Regions from separate parts of the Homo sapiens genome. Here region 1 is linked to region 2. The links are contacts of gene promoters, found by promoter capture Hi-C in blood cells and fetal thymus (Javierre and others, 2016). All regions are on one chromosome and are shown on one strand. Each heading gives the region's core, a stretch centred on a gene start or on the middle of the fragment in contact. The rest is flanking DNA. Distances are from core to core; before and after follow the strand shown. Region 1 holds the start of MANSC1 (MANSC domain containing 1). Region 2 holds the start of PRH1-TAS2R14 (PRH1-TAS2R14 readthrough).

Region 1 (7,265 bases), core at 968-3,467, 1.2 Mb after region 2:
TGCACTCCAGCCTGGGCAACAGAGTGAGACCCTATCTCAAAAAAGAAAAAAAAAAAAGGAAAAATTCTCATTCATTGCTGTTGGGGAATGCAAAATGGTACAGCCACTTTGGGAGAAGTTTGGCAGTTTCTTACCAAGCTAAATGCAGCCTTACCATACAATTCAGCAATTGTCCTCCTATGTATTCACTCAAATGAATTGAAAACTTATGTCCACACAAAAATCTGCAATAGAATATTTGTAGTAGCTTTATTCATAATTGCCAAAAACTAAAAGCAACCAAGATGCCCATCAATAGATGAATAAACAAAATGAGATACATCCATACATTGGAATATTACTCAGTAATAAAAATAAATGAACTATCAAGCCACAAAAAGACATGGAGGAATCTTAACTGCATATTCCTAAGTCAAAGAAGCCAGTCTGAACAGATATGAATCTAACTGTATGACGTTCTAAAAAAGGCAAACTACAGCGGCAGTAAGAAGGCCAGTGGTCACCAGGAGAACAGGAGTGGGAGGATGAATCGGTGGAGTGCAAGGGATATTTGGGGCATTGAGACTATTCTGTATAACACTGTAATGGAGGATACATGTTATTGAACATCTGTCAAAACCCATAGAAATGTAAAACACACAGAGTGAACATTATGTGAACTATGGACTTTTAGTTTTAAAAAAAGGTAAAACCAAAAAAAAAAAAAAACCCAGAAACAAACCAGTATATGGTAATAAAACACAAGTCTAATACTTTTCTTGCTGTTTGTCAAAATTCTGTATACAGTAAAATAGTAACATTTATTGCGTCTAAAATGCCAGTTTCTATGCTAAGCACTTTATATATATCATGTCATTTAATCTTTACAGATCCCATTATTATCCTCATTTTAGTTAAAACTTACAAAAAGTTGTGGGACATAATATGTGCTTCTTTATTAACCTATTAAGTAACAAGTGGTCATCTAATAACTGCCATAATTTTGACGTGGTATTGAGTATAGATAATATTTTGAAACGTGCAACAAGTCATGTGATATAAAGATATCGGCAATATTTACAGGGGGCAAATCATAGCTACTGCTAATACTACTGTGGCTTTTGCCTACATTCCATTTCAGAAGTCGGTGAAATAATAATTTTTTCCACTCAAGTTCACAGACATCCTGAATTCTATCCATGGATACCTTATCGTGGACTCCCCAGGTTAATAATTCTGGCCAAGGTACTTAATACGCTGCCATATTTTGCAAGCCTCTAGGGAATCAAGAGAAAACCAGGCCAATACTTTATTTTGAATGGATTCTAATGTAGCCTCTTTTCAAGCTTTTGCAAAGAAACCTGAACTATGTAAGGAGATGGGGCAGGAGTTGTTTTCAGTATGCAGCATTGAGAGAAGTGTTTAAGAGTTTTATATCATTAAAGAGGCTCAGCAATATTAGGTTAGCGACGTTTTCTAATCCATTATTATTTAGGCTTTAAGGGCCTGAAGTCGAGTTGAATCTTGTTGAAAGACGGGGTAAAAGGATACAGGCGGGTGAGAGAGGATGCCCCTGAGTTTTAACGTCTGCATACAAGAGTCGCTAAAACTTACTCGCACGTAATTAGTTCAAATATTGGAAATCGTCTTACAGCACACTATAATTTACCAAGATGCTTATAACTGTATACACACACACACTCTACAGAGAATTAGACAATTAGCAGTTTCAATAATGAATACAGAGTCAACGACAAGAAAACAGGGAACATTTTCTCTTCCTTTGAGGAAATGCATGTTGCCTACTGAGCTATTCTTCTGCCTCTCCTTCTGATGTCAACGCAGAGCCAGAGCCATTTATGGCAGGTGCCTTGAGCCCGCCTAGAGGTCCCCTTTGGAATACTGCAGCGACTCAAGGATCCTGGTCAGCCCTTATTGGCCCCAGCTGGTCCTTTGGATGCTCGGGTGTGGGTGAAGGAGCCTCGGCCCCTGGAAAGGAGGGGACCGACTCTCTCCGCAGGTAGCGACGTCGCCTGCGGCCGGTCGGGGGTGGGTATTGGGGAGACCCCTTTACCTGGCGTCGAGAGGACCCCGGCGCCCCTGCTGCCATCCAGGTGCGAGGACAGCTCTGTCGCGCCCGCGGGAAGGACCGGCGAATCCGCGCGGGGGTCTCGGCGAGGACCGCAGCGGATGCTCCGCAGCTCCCGCACCGGCCTGGCGGGTTTTGTGGTTAGCAAGTTCCTGCTTCCGTCGCAGCGACGGCAAGTTTGCCGCGGGGGAAGGGCACGTTCCTGCCCTGCAACCCGGAGCTGCTTCCCGGCAACATTAGCGCGTCCCTCCCCGCGGAGGCTCCGGGCTCCCGGCCCCAGCGCTGAGCCCCGCAGGGAGGTGGCTCCCCCCACCGCCCCGCGCTCCCCCCCAGCTCAGCCACACCGCTGACCCCGGGCTGGGCGCGCTGCGAGGGGGAGTGCGTGCCTCCCTGCTGGTGGCCCGAGGGTCTGCAGGTGAGCCTTGCCTCGCGGCCCGCGCAAGTTAAAATAAATGCACATGGGGAAAATGTCAAACAGTACAAAAATAGACACAGAGACAAGTCTACCCCTCACCCCCGTGCCCCAGTCTCCTAGTCTCCCTCCTCAGAGGCAACCACTGAGAGCAGTTTTTTGATGTTCAAGGGCTTATAGTGCATCCTATTGGGGGCATAGTTCTGAGAATCCTCTTTCCATAATTGGAGGATGGAGTCCTCAATTAAAGATGGCAATTCTTGAGTTAAATATTATCTGCAAGACAAACTTCAGGGAAGGTATTTGGCTTTCTGCGGGATTTATTGTTTGTAGATAGGATAATAATGGTGAAAATGCTGGTGTCTGTAACATATATTAAAACTGTATCCCTAACACTTAGCATAGTGCCTGGTACACAATAGGTGCTCAGTAAATATTTAACTAAAATATTTTTGTTGACTGAATGAATGGAAAAGAACTGCATAGGGCATAGGTTGTGGAAGTTTCTAAATTACTGCTGGCCCCATCCCCACCTCCATAAACACACACACAAATGCAACGTTACTAAACCATTGACACTTAGTTTGCCATATGGTCTAACCTTTGACAGTATCTTCACCTCTGTTTTGAAAGAGCTTGCAGACCTGAAGCGCTATGCAATTGCAAGTTAAGTCTAGGCCTGTACGGCCAACAGCTACACACCCTAGTCTTAACCAATAACTACAGGAGGATTAGGTTGACTGAGAATGCTTGTGAACAAAGGTCCATTGTGTGAAACTAACTCTACTTGTAACCAAAGGATGACTCTTGAATTACAATGTTGCTAAAGCTAGGTTTGAAAGAGTTACCAAAGAAAAGTAAACACCAGAGTAATTTCCCATTGCAGTGATTTTCCTGATGCAACAAGGGACTGATCTGCAAGTGTGTTTTATCTTTTATCATCTGATACACTTCAGGGTTCAGGGTGTAGAGCTATCACAGTTTTTGAATCTCTCTACATGGGGTAATCCATGCTAGTTACAAAGTAGACCTTTCCATTATTAGAAACTTCGTATTCGGTGCTTTAATACAATGAACCTGTTTCTTTTTTTGTTTTGTTTTGTGTTTTGTTTGTTTTTAGAGACGGAGTCTCGCTGTGTTGCCCAGGCTGGAGTGCAGTGGTGTGATCTCGGCTCACTGCAACCTCCACCTCCCGGGTTATAGCAATTCTTTTGCCTCAGACTCCTGAGTAGCTGGGACTACAGGCACATGCCGCCACGCCCAGCTAATTTTTTTCTATTTTAGTAGAGATGGGGTTTCACCGTGTTGCCCAGGCTGGTCTCGAACTCCTGAGCTCAGGCAATCCGCCCGCCTCGGCGTCCCAAAGTGCTAGGATTACAGGCGTGAGCCACTGTGCCCGGCCTGAACCTGTTTTCATTGAAGTGATATGTTATTTTTTCAGTTATGACAGTGAACAAAGGATATTGATTAAAATAATGATTAAAGAAATATTTTCTATTATATATGTTTAATTTATAAATATCATTGTTTATTTATTCATTTTTTTAGACAGGGTCTCGCTCTGTTGCCCACACTGGAGTGCAATGGCACAATCACGACTCACTGCAGCTTTGACCACCTGGGCTCAAGTGATTCTTTTGCCTCAGTCTCTTGAGTAGCTGGGACCACAAACGCACACCACACCCAGCTAATGTTCTTAATTTTTTTTTTTTTTTTAATTTTGAGATGGAGTCTCGCTCTGTTGCCCAGGCTGGAGTGCAGTGGCACGATCTCAGCTCACTGCAACTTCTGCCTCCCAGGTTCAAGCAATTCTCCTGCTTCAGTCTCCTGAGTAGCTGAGATTACAGGCTCATGCCACCATGCCCAGCTAATTTTTGTATTTTTAGTAGAGTCGGGGTTTCACCATGTTGGTCAGGCTGGTCTTGAACTCCTGACATCAAGTGATCTGCCCACCTTGGCCTCCCAAAGTGCTGGGATTATAGGCGTGACCCACCGTACCCGGTGTTTTAAATTATTTGTATAGATGAGGTCTTGCTACATTGCCCAGGCTAGTCTCAAACTCCTGGGCTCAAGCAATCCTCCTGCTTTGGCCTCCCAAAGTGCTGGGATTACAGGTGTGAGCCACTGCACTTGGCTTACTTAAAAATAAAATAAAAACTTTAATTTCTGGCCTGAGTCATAACTTAGAAATTATATCCATTGTCACTTCATTTCCTGAAGAGATTCTTGACACTCTTCTCTGAGGGTTAGAAGTCCCATCTATGTGGAGAAAGATTTCTTTAAAAGTAATCGGAAAACATGTATTAAGCAGCCAGGCGCAGTGGCTCACGCCTGTAATCCCAGCACTTTGGGAGGCCGAGGCGGGTGGATCACGAGGTCAGGAGATCGAGACCATCCTGGCTAACATGGTGAAACCCTGTCTCTAATAAAAATACAAAAAATTAGCTGGGTATGGTGGCGCGCGCCTGTAGTCCCAGCTATTGGGGAGGCTGAGGCAGAAGAATGGTGTGAACCCAGGAGGTGGAGCTTGTAGTGAGCCGAGATCGAGCCACTGCACTCCAGCCTGGGTGAAAGAGTGAGACTCTGTCTCAAAAAACAAACAAACAAACAAACAAACAAACAAAAAAAAAAACATGTATTAAGCACCTGCAGGGGAAACTAAAGACCAGTAATACCAATGAGATCTACCTTTAAGATGTTCATAGTTCAGAAGGAGAAAAAGTAAATCAATGGCTGTGTAAACAGTTAAGTGTGATGAAGGCCAGGTGTAGTGGCTCATGCCTGTAATTCCAGTGCTTTGGGAAGCCAAGGCAGGAGGATCACTTAAGCCCAGGAGTTTGAGGCCAGCCTGAGCAGCATAGCAAGACTCCATCTCTACAAAAAATAAAAATTAGCATGGTGTGGTGGTACACGTCTGTAGTTTCAGCTACTTGGGAGGCTGAGACAGGAGGATCTCCTAAGAGCCTAGGAGGCTCTTAGGAGGCTGTAGTGAGCCATGATAGCATCACTGCACTCCAGCCTGGGCAACAGAGTGAGACCCTGTCCCTGCCCTCCCCAAGAAAAGAATAAATGTTATGATAGAAGATGGCAACTAAAAAGGCTCAGAGAAGGGACATCTGATCCCAATTTCTGGGAAGAGGTGTTAATTATTGAAGAATGAAGTTATTAGCAGATGAGGAGGAAAAGGCTGAATATTTCAGGAATAGGAAACTGCATGACCACAGGAAATTCAGCCTGTTAGGAAGGTTACCAGTGTACACAGAAGAATAGAGAGAGAGGCTGGGGTCAGAGCAGGAAGGTTTTCATATGTTAAATCTTAAACTTTATCCTAAAGGCATGGGGAGTTCCTGAAGGCTTTTTGTAGGGCAGTGACAGGTCCAGAGACCTAATTAATATTCTAGAAAATTATCTCTACCTGCCACAGGAGGGATGGATTGAGGGACGTGAGGCCAGAGGCCTCTCTTCCAAGAAACGGAAGTGATAAGGCCCTGAAATGGGCATGCAGATAGAGGAGAAATTAAGAGGAGAGGCTCTCCAGGACACAACGATTGGTTGGATGCAGTGCTGACAGTAAGCAGGCTTCTGGCTTGGGAGCCTGGTTGGGTGGGAGTACCAGGTCATATAAAGACACGGGAAGAGGAGTCAGTCTGGAGTGGACAGAGGCATGATGAGTTTTGAAAACGTGAATCCTGGTTTTATCACTCACTAGTTGTGTGACCAAGAATAAATCACTTAACTTTTCTGTAAAATTAGGAAAGTGGTATCTACTTTACACGCAGGTCATAATATAGACCTTTTTATGCAGGTCTAACATATAGACCTGCAGACCTGTAAACTCAAAAAGGCTGTTCAATTGCTAGTTATTACATATACAATAACACAGTTTGCTGCTCATGTAGAAGGGATTTTAAAGGTGCTAAAAGACATCAATCTGAAATGTTTCCTAGCTATAAAGCTCTTCCAGCAGACTCCTTATGTTATATAAATGCTCATTTAATTTTCTTGCCACCAGACTGTAAGCTTCCTAAGTACAGGGATTGGGCCTTGTTGAATTTTTTATTTTTAACGTGTAGCAAGTGCCTAGAACATTTCAGGTTCCCAAGAAATGTTAAGCCAGTGAAGGAAGGAATTTTATCTTCATATGTTCTTTTACTGAATATAGCTTTATGGATATGGAATTTGTATACCATACAATTTACCCTGGTAAAGTGTACTCTACAGTGGTTTTTAATATATTCAGAGTTGTGCATTCATCATTACAATTTTAGAACATTTTCATCAACCCCAGAAAGAAACCCCATACCCAATAATAGTCTACATTTCCCTTCCACCCGTACCCCTCCTCGGCCTTAGGCAACACTAACATATTTCTCTCTCTGTAGTGCTTCTCCTGGACATTTCATATAAATGAAATCTACAATATGTGGTCTTTTGTGATACGCTTTGTTTTTTTTTTTTTTGAGACGGAGTCTTCGCTCTGTCGCCCAGGCTGGAGTGCAGTGGTGCGATCTCTGCTCACTGCAAGCTCCGCCTTCTGGGTTCAAGCGATTCTCCTGCCTCAGCCTCCTGAGTAGCTGGAAATACAGGCGCCCGCCACCACGCCCGGCTAATTTTTTTTGTATTTTTAGTAGAGACAGGATTTCAGTTTGTCAGCCAGGATGGTCTCAATCTCCTGACCCCGTGATCCGCCCGCCTCGGCCTCCCAAAGTGCTGGGATTACAGGCGTGAGCCACCGCACCCGGCCTGACAGGCCTTTTTCATATTGAATAATGTTGTCAAGGTTAC
Region 2 (7,339 bases), core at 3,456-5,955:
GACCTTGGTTTGGGGCCTCCTTCATCTTCAAAGTCAGAAGTGTTGCATCTCTCTAACCCTAGTTAAGAAATAATCTGTTTTTAAGGGCTCATATGATTAGACTGAACCCACCTAAATAATATGGGATAATCTCCCATCTCAAGGTGCATACCAATAATCACATTTGCAAAATCTCCATGCCATATAATGTAACATATTAACTAGTTCCAAAGATTAAGTCATAGACATCTTTGGGAAAGCCATTATTCTGCCTCCTATACCGTGTACCATAAAGGAACTTTCCTAGGTTTCCTGTCTGTCCTCAACCTTTCCAGTAAGCATTCGGTAGAAGCCCAAGGGGAAAAGCTGGCAATTACAGACCACTCCTGTGTCTGGGGCTCCCAGGTATTCTAAACTGTCACATTAAACTACACTCAACCTTTGTAAGAATTTGTTAAAATTTCAGCCATTTTCTTGTTACCTACTGAAATGCCAGAGAACTCTTCTGGAGTTCTGCCACAGATGAAACAATTCATGTCTCCTATTTGGAAAGGCTTGTAATTTTTTTTTTTTTTTTTGATATGGAGTCTCGCTCTGTCACCCAGGCTGGAGTGCAGTGGCCCCATCTCGGCTCACTGCAAGCTCCACCTCCTGGGTTCACACCATTCTCCTGCCTCAGCCTCCCGAGTAGGTGGGACTACAGGCGCCTGCCACCACACCCAGCTAATTTTTTGTATTTTTAGTAGAGAGACGGGGTTTCACCATGTTAGCCAGGATGGCCCAGATCTCCTGACCTCGGGATCCACCCACCTCAGCCTCCCAAAGTGCTAAAATTCAGTTTACCTGCTCACCTTGTAACTTCAGTTCTAACAAGCTCAAAATAAATTATGACTTTGTAGCCTACCTAGTTTACTCTCTTTGTTAGAGCAGAAGCAACATTCTCTTTTGGTCTACTGCTAACTAAAAGGAAGTAAAATTCTCAAGCTGGTTTTCAAAATGCATGCATAAATGCATGCTATATCATATTCTTCCACATGCATGGTTTAAAAAATGTCTCAATTAAAAAATAGATTCATGTATAGGTGATTTTTTATGCACCTATGAAATCTGGCCTTGTAATGAAGAATACAATAGATCTTAATAATCTGACAATTATTAAATGTGTTTCATTGTCTAAAAGAGAGGTTTGAGGGGAGAAAAAGAAAAGTCTTTCTTGAAATATGGAAATAAGAGTATATATTTAGCTCTGAGTATGTTCTGGTAAGAATTACAATGATGTCAAACTATATGTACATATTAAAGCCATGGCAAAAAACGAAAGAAAGAAAGAAGAAAGAAAGAAAGAAAGAAAGAAAGAAAGAAAGAAAGAAAGAAAGAAAGAAAGAAAGAAAGAAAGAAAGAAAGAAAGAAAGAAAGAAGGAAGGAAGGAAGGAAGGAAGGAAGGAAGGAAGGAAGGAAGGGAAAGAAAGGAAAGAAAAGAAAGAAAAGAAAGAAAGAAAGAAAGAAAGAAAGAAAGAAAGAAAGAAAGAAAGAAAGGAAAAGAAAAGAAAAGAAAAAAGAAAGAAAGAAAGAGAAAAGAAAAATTAAAGAGTTTTTATGTGGGCTTCTACTTGATTTTATTTTTTCCTAATACAAAAAAGTTTTCGTCAAGGCTTTCAAGGAGCCAAGGTTTCCCATCATATCAAGAATCTAATCTTCCACAGCATTATCAGTGAGGTCTGACTCAGCTTGCTCTTCCCAAGAATCAGAATCAGAGTGATCAGAAAGGCAGAAGGCTCCTACTATCTGGAAAAGCATCATGCCCAGCAGGCTGTTTACCATAAAGTGAATCAAATCTGCTATAAAAGCTGAAAAACAGTACATGATAAAAAGAAAATAAGAAAGATTACGACTCCAAAATCATTTATTTCCCAATGGAATGTTAATAAACCAAGGACTCCATCAGAATCATAATATTCACATAATTAATTCTACACTTTATCCAAAGGAAAAATGGCTGAGAAAAATTAGCTATTGTGAACCACCCCCACCTCCAAAAATTATCAGGCAGATAGCAAACCAAAGGGTTGAGTACTGATCAGTGTCCAAAAGGAAACGTACTTTTTTTCTAGTTTGGCATTAGCACAAGTTAATGGTGTGGTGTGAACATAAGTATAAAAATATTAAGCAGTATTAAACACAGCTGTTAAATTCTGGAGCTGGCTAACCTGATGAAAAGTCAGTTAAAGGAAGCTTCCAATGCCCAAGCCAGTCAATGCAGTTAATCTGTACAATCAAGCCATTTCCAATCATGAATTTTCTAATTTGTACAATCAAGCCATTTCCAATCATGAATACTCTAATCATGAATTCTCCTAATATCACCCTCAGCAAAAGAAGTGTGGATTAGGCATTCAAATCTAAACATCAAGGGGCAGATAAAAACTACAACCACCTAAATTATTGCTCCTATCCCACTCTCAGGTGGAAAGAAGGAAATCTTTCTTCAGCTCTAGAGCATTAAGGAGTAGGATTTGGAGCTTTGTGACTGTTCTTTGCCTATTCCCGTCCCATTGGAATAGGCCCTCAATCTGGCCATGTTATCAGTGGGTGGCTGCTATTTTCCCCACGGTCTCAGGGTGGAAGATAAGGTTTTCATGGAGTTACCCAGAAACGGAGCAAGTAGGGCGTAAAGGGTGGCACAAAAGAGGAATAGAAGACAGAATGAGTCCACATAGCTTTACATATTTGGAAATGAAAAATCCAGGACGTAATGACTCCTGTGACTCTGAATGGCTCTGTGTATTAGTCTTTCAGTTTTCAAAGGGAGTAAATTATATGTGTGAACTGAAACTATATATCTTCTCCCAGTTCTCAGAATTGATCATTTATTTTACATCGCTCTTCAGTCTCTATACCAGTATTTTAGAAGTTGTCATAAGTAATTCCTCTAAGTGCTACCTCGCTGGAGTGGTACTGGAGCAGCAAAGTAGCAAAAGAATACTAGCTGGGAACACAAAATTAATTTTTACAAATTTATCAGTGGCACGTTATTTCTACCAGTCATATAATCAGTAGACTATATAGAAACAGAGGTACTCTAGGGTACCGTACTTGTGCTCTGAATAGCTGCTAGACATGCAGTGCACGGTGCGATGTGTGGTATCTCAACAATGCTTTTCAGAACAAGACTGTAACCTTAAGGTCATGATCAGAAATCACACATTTGAATAATCCATGAATGAAGACGGTGTGTGCGATTAAAAAATACAGTGCTTTCTAGTTAAAATGGGAGATAAGTGAAGGTAATGAAATGTGCACCATTTAAATAACAAAAGTATTGTGGCTATTAGAGATTCACTGTGCTGTTACTCTAATGGTATTAAGAGTTTGGAAGTACAGGCCGGGCGCTGTGGCTCACGCCTGTAATCCCAGCACTTTGGGAGGCTGAGGCGGGCAGATCACGAGGTCAGGAGATCGAGACCATCCTGGCTAACACGGTGAAACCCCATCTCTACCAAAAAATACAAAAAATTAGCCGGGCATGGTGGCGGGCGCCTGTAGTCCCAGCTACTCAGGAGGCTGAGGCAGGAGAATGGCGTGAACCCGGGAGGCGGAGCTTGCAGTGAGCCGAGATCGCGCCACTGCACTCCAGCCTGGGCGACAGAGCGAGACTCCCGTCTCAAAAACAACAACAAAAAAAGAGTTTGGAAGTACAGAGTAGTATTCCAGCTCTTGGAGCCTAGCCACAGGTTTCACAGATGCATCTCCATGCAGAAATGGCTGAAGCTTCCACAGCTAATCTGAACTTTTTAAGGGTTTACATGGCTGGGAATATAATTTTGTATGTATGTCCTTATGTATATACGCGTGTGTGTCCACTAGTTTTTTGCTTGAATGTTTATCATTCCTGTCACTTGCAATTTAAATATTCCTAATAAATAGAAAAATCCAAAGACTAAGATTGTGATCCTTTTTATGTCTATGGTATATTATGAATACAGAGACCTTGTGCTTTTATTGGCGTAGGAATCATCTTGCCCTAATATTAATATTATGAAATCAAAAGGGTAAGATTCCTAACATCCCACATAACACAGCAGACAAACTAAAGTTTTAATCTAGCTTTGGCCCTTACAAATTTTGTGCCCTACGGCAAGTTACATCTCGCTTAGATTTTTTCATTTTAAAGTGGAACTATCTGCATGGATGTTCGTACATGCTATATAACACATCCTATTCCAGAGCCACCTACCATCAGTTGAGCTCTAAATGGTAAATGCCACAGTGAGAAGCAGACAGGAAGGGGCGGAGCGCCAGCGGCGCCCGGGGCTACGCGCCGCACTGCACCGAGCGGCGGCAGCGGCAAGCTTGGGTGTGAGCCCGGGAGCCGCTTTGCTTACCGTCCTGCCGGTCCCAGCCGTCGCTAGGAGGTCCGCGGGCCCTGCGGCAACCCTCGCTACAGACGCTGGGCGGGCGGCGACACCTGGCTCATGGCCCCCGCGGCGGCTCCGTCCTCCTTGGCCGTCAGGGCCTCAAGCCCCGCCGCGACACCCACCTCGTACGGCGTCTTCTGCAAGGGGCTCTCCCGCACCCTGCTCGCCTTCTTCGAGCTGGCCTGGCAGCTGCGCATGAACTTCCCGTACTTCTACGTCGCGGGCTCGGTGATCCTCAACATCCGATTGCAGGTACATATTTAGAGCCATGACTAAGCTAACGGCCTCCGGGGCCAGCATGATGGCCGACTCCCAGGGTCCGTTGCGGCGCGGCGGAGCAGCCAATGGCGAGCCCCACAGTCTCGCGAGAGTGCTCAGGCGCTCTTCGTGGCTGCCCTCTTAGCTGCTAGCGGAGCTCCTCAGGGGGCGGCCGGGAGCCTACAATCCCTAGAAAGAGAATACGCTGTTCCGGAAACAGAACTGCAGTTAAGACCCTCGAAAACATCTAAGAAAGTGTGCATCCTAAAACACCTGACGAATTTCAGAATGTGACAAAGCGCAGAGGATGCATTATTTCAAAACAAAACAGAAGGCTAAAATTTGCAGGAAAAAGAAAATCAGTAAACCGGGAATCCTCGGACTGGATTGTAAGCAAGATTTCAATGAATAAGAAGCTGAAGGTATTAAGGCTGTGATATAGAAGGTACATATTTCATCCCACAAGAGAAAACAATAATAATCAGAAATTTTCGGTGAAAAAAACGCAAAACTGTACAGGAAAATCATCCTCCAAGTACCAGACATAAAATGCTGCAAGCTTTTGAACTAATGGCGAGAGTGTAAGAAAATGGGCTCTACTTCAGTGATCCTGTGGCAGGACGTGGATCAAGACTTGGAACCGCAGAAAACGAAATCCCATAGTAGCACAAAGCTTGGCTGTTCAGTGAATAACATTTAAATAATCGTAAAATACAAATGTTGTTTATGGTTTTTATTGTTTAAGGGCATACTTAATTATGGTTACAAAGTGGAGTGCAAATGTTATTTACCATGTTTTAAAAATACAGCCGGAAAATACAAGTGGGAATGTTGAAGGAGGGCGGGGGAAGTAAATGGAATGGGGGTTATGTCCTTATAAAGTGGAAACTTGAAAGGTACTGTCTGTTGTTGAGTGGGGAAAGACATTTTTATTACTTACAGGGTAGCCATAAAGTTTCTAAAACGGTAATATATTAAAGAGGGAGAGTGGTAGGGGAGAACAGTATGAAGTCAACAGGAAATGGCTAAAGATGGAGAGCTCAGGTAGAATAGTTTAAAAAATGAAAATTGATAGAGTACCTGGTGTATTTGAATACAGCCTAGAGAGCTTTCATTTTCCAAAGAGTGTGGGGATAAATTAGTGAATGCATATTTTTCAAAATTAAGAAAACAGAACATATAATTTTGAACGCTGAGAAAAATAAAAATTTAAAAACTACACTGTATACACGGTATACCTCAACTGTGAATAATAGTAGTCATGTAAAGTCAGTCATAATTATGTAAATACTGAATACTGATTTTACAACAAATGATTCTATAACGCTGGGAGGATGGGAGAAAAGAGATGTGTGTGTGTGTAATGGTGGTGAGCCAATCAAGATCTGATATAGAAAAATGCAGAAAAAGGAGTATACACATGTTTTCTTCGGATTAAAAAAACTAATAATAAATCACCAAGAGTGGTAAAGTTTTAAATCAAGATCTGATATAGAAAAGTGCAGAAAAAGTAGTATACGCATTTTTTTTTTCAGGAAAAAATTAACTAATAAACCACTAAGAGGGGTAAAGTGTTAAAATAGTTGCATTGTTCTATATTCCACTCATTGTGTCCAGCAAACAGTGTTCTATGGCTTTAAGTAGTAAGCATCTTGCCCCGTCCAACACCATGTCTGGCCTAGGGTAATTGTTCTTTCTAGTCTTTATTCTTTGTCTCCAGCCAAACTCCATTTGGGCACATTCTCCTATAGCCTTTTCTACCTGAAGATACTCTGTGTTTTAAAGCTAAGCTTAGGTGGCGCTTTTTCCATTAAATTTTTCCTGGATTCCACTGACCATATAGGAGCTCACTTCTTTTAATCCATAAGGCCATTTTCATAGGTTGCCTTATTTTTCCCTAATCGTGCATCAACTGTCTGTTTTATATACCCAAGACAGGTTTCCTAGACTGCGATAAGCCAAAACATTTTAGTCTAAAATATCAGAAGTGTAGTTTAATCAATGAAATAGTAATACCAAGGGATTTAGAATCGTGGACATCACTGTTTCCCAGAGCACTGATGTCCCAATTTGTAACACAAAAGACTGTCTAGTCTTAATCCTGAAATGGTGACAGAGTAGGATGCTCCATTTGGGTGACTATGTGAACATATTCCTATAACTTTTTTCCTCACATCAGTCATTTGTTAAACCGAAGATGAAGAAACAGACTTTGTATTTATTACATCCTCCAACATAATTGGCAGCTCTGTGAGGGAAGACACTATATCCTATTCAATTTTACACCCGGTAGTAACAGTATGTGTGTGTACTGTATATATACATATATATATACATACACATATATAAATTTAAGTAGTAACTATATATGTATATATGTATAGTTACTACTTACTATATATGTATACAGTATATAAGTATATATGTATAGTTACTACTTACAATATATGCATAAAGTTACAGCTTACATTTACCTCGTAATATATGTATATATATATATTAGGAGTTAAATGTATTAGGAGGTAAATGTAAACTCTGTGGTTTATCATTTATTCACAATTGCTCTTAATTCTTGGGGTATAGTTTGCCTCCTACATGATGCAATTCAGTGAAATTCCCAGGAGACAAAACAAGATTTTGACCTGAATAAACCACTTATTGTTGTAATTCACAAGTGAGTTTATTCT

Evidence for each region. Contacts are between HindIII fragments. The CHiCAGO score rates a contact against its expected background, and 5 or more counts as called.
Region 1: a contact is called between the fragment with the promoter of MANSC1 here and the fragment with the promoter of PRH1-TAS2R14 in region 2, in 3 of 17 cell types (non-activated CD4 T cells, total CD4 T cells and monocytes). The highest score is 6.8, in non-activated CD4 T cells.

The regions. Positions count from the first base shown.
Region 1 is chr12:12,348,025-12,355,289 of GRCh38, forward strand. MANSC1 (MANSC domain containing 1) reads right to left here and starts at 2,218. Exons shown (of 4, transcript NM_018050.4): 1 at 2,054-2,218. RefSeq lists a silencer at 2,219-2,528 and a cis regulatory region at 5,784-6,219. The HindIII fragment of the contact is 5,175 bases long and covers 1,324-6,498 here.
Region 2 is chr12:11,166,906-11,174,244 of GRCh38, forward strand. PRH1-TAS2R14 (PRH1-TAS2R14 readthrough) reads right to left here and starts at 4,706. Exons shown (of 5, transcript NM_001316893.2): 1 at 4,517-4,706. It overlaps SMIM10L1 (small integral membrane protein 10 like 1), which reads left to right and starts at 4,289. Exons shown (of 1, transcript NM_001271592.2): 1 at 4,289-7,339. The coding sequence starts at 4,452. The coding sequence ends at 4,658. PRH1-PRR4 (PRH1-PRR4 readthrough) reads right to left here and starts at 4,720. Exons shown (of 10, transcript NR_037918.2): 1 at 4,517-4,720. It also overlaps a transcript of PRH1 not described here. The HindIII fragment of the contact is 883 bases long and covers 4,327-5,209 here.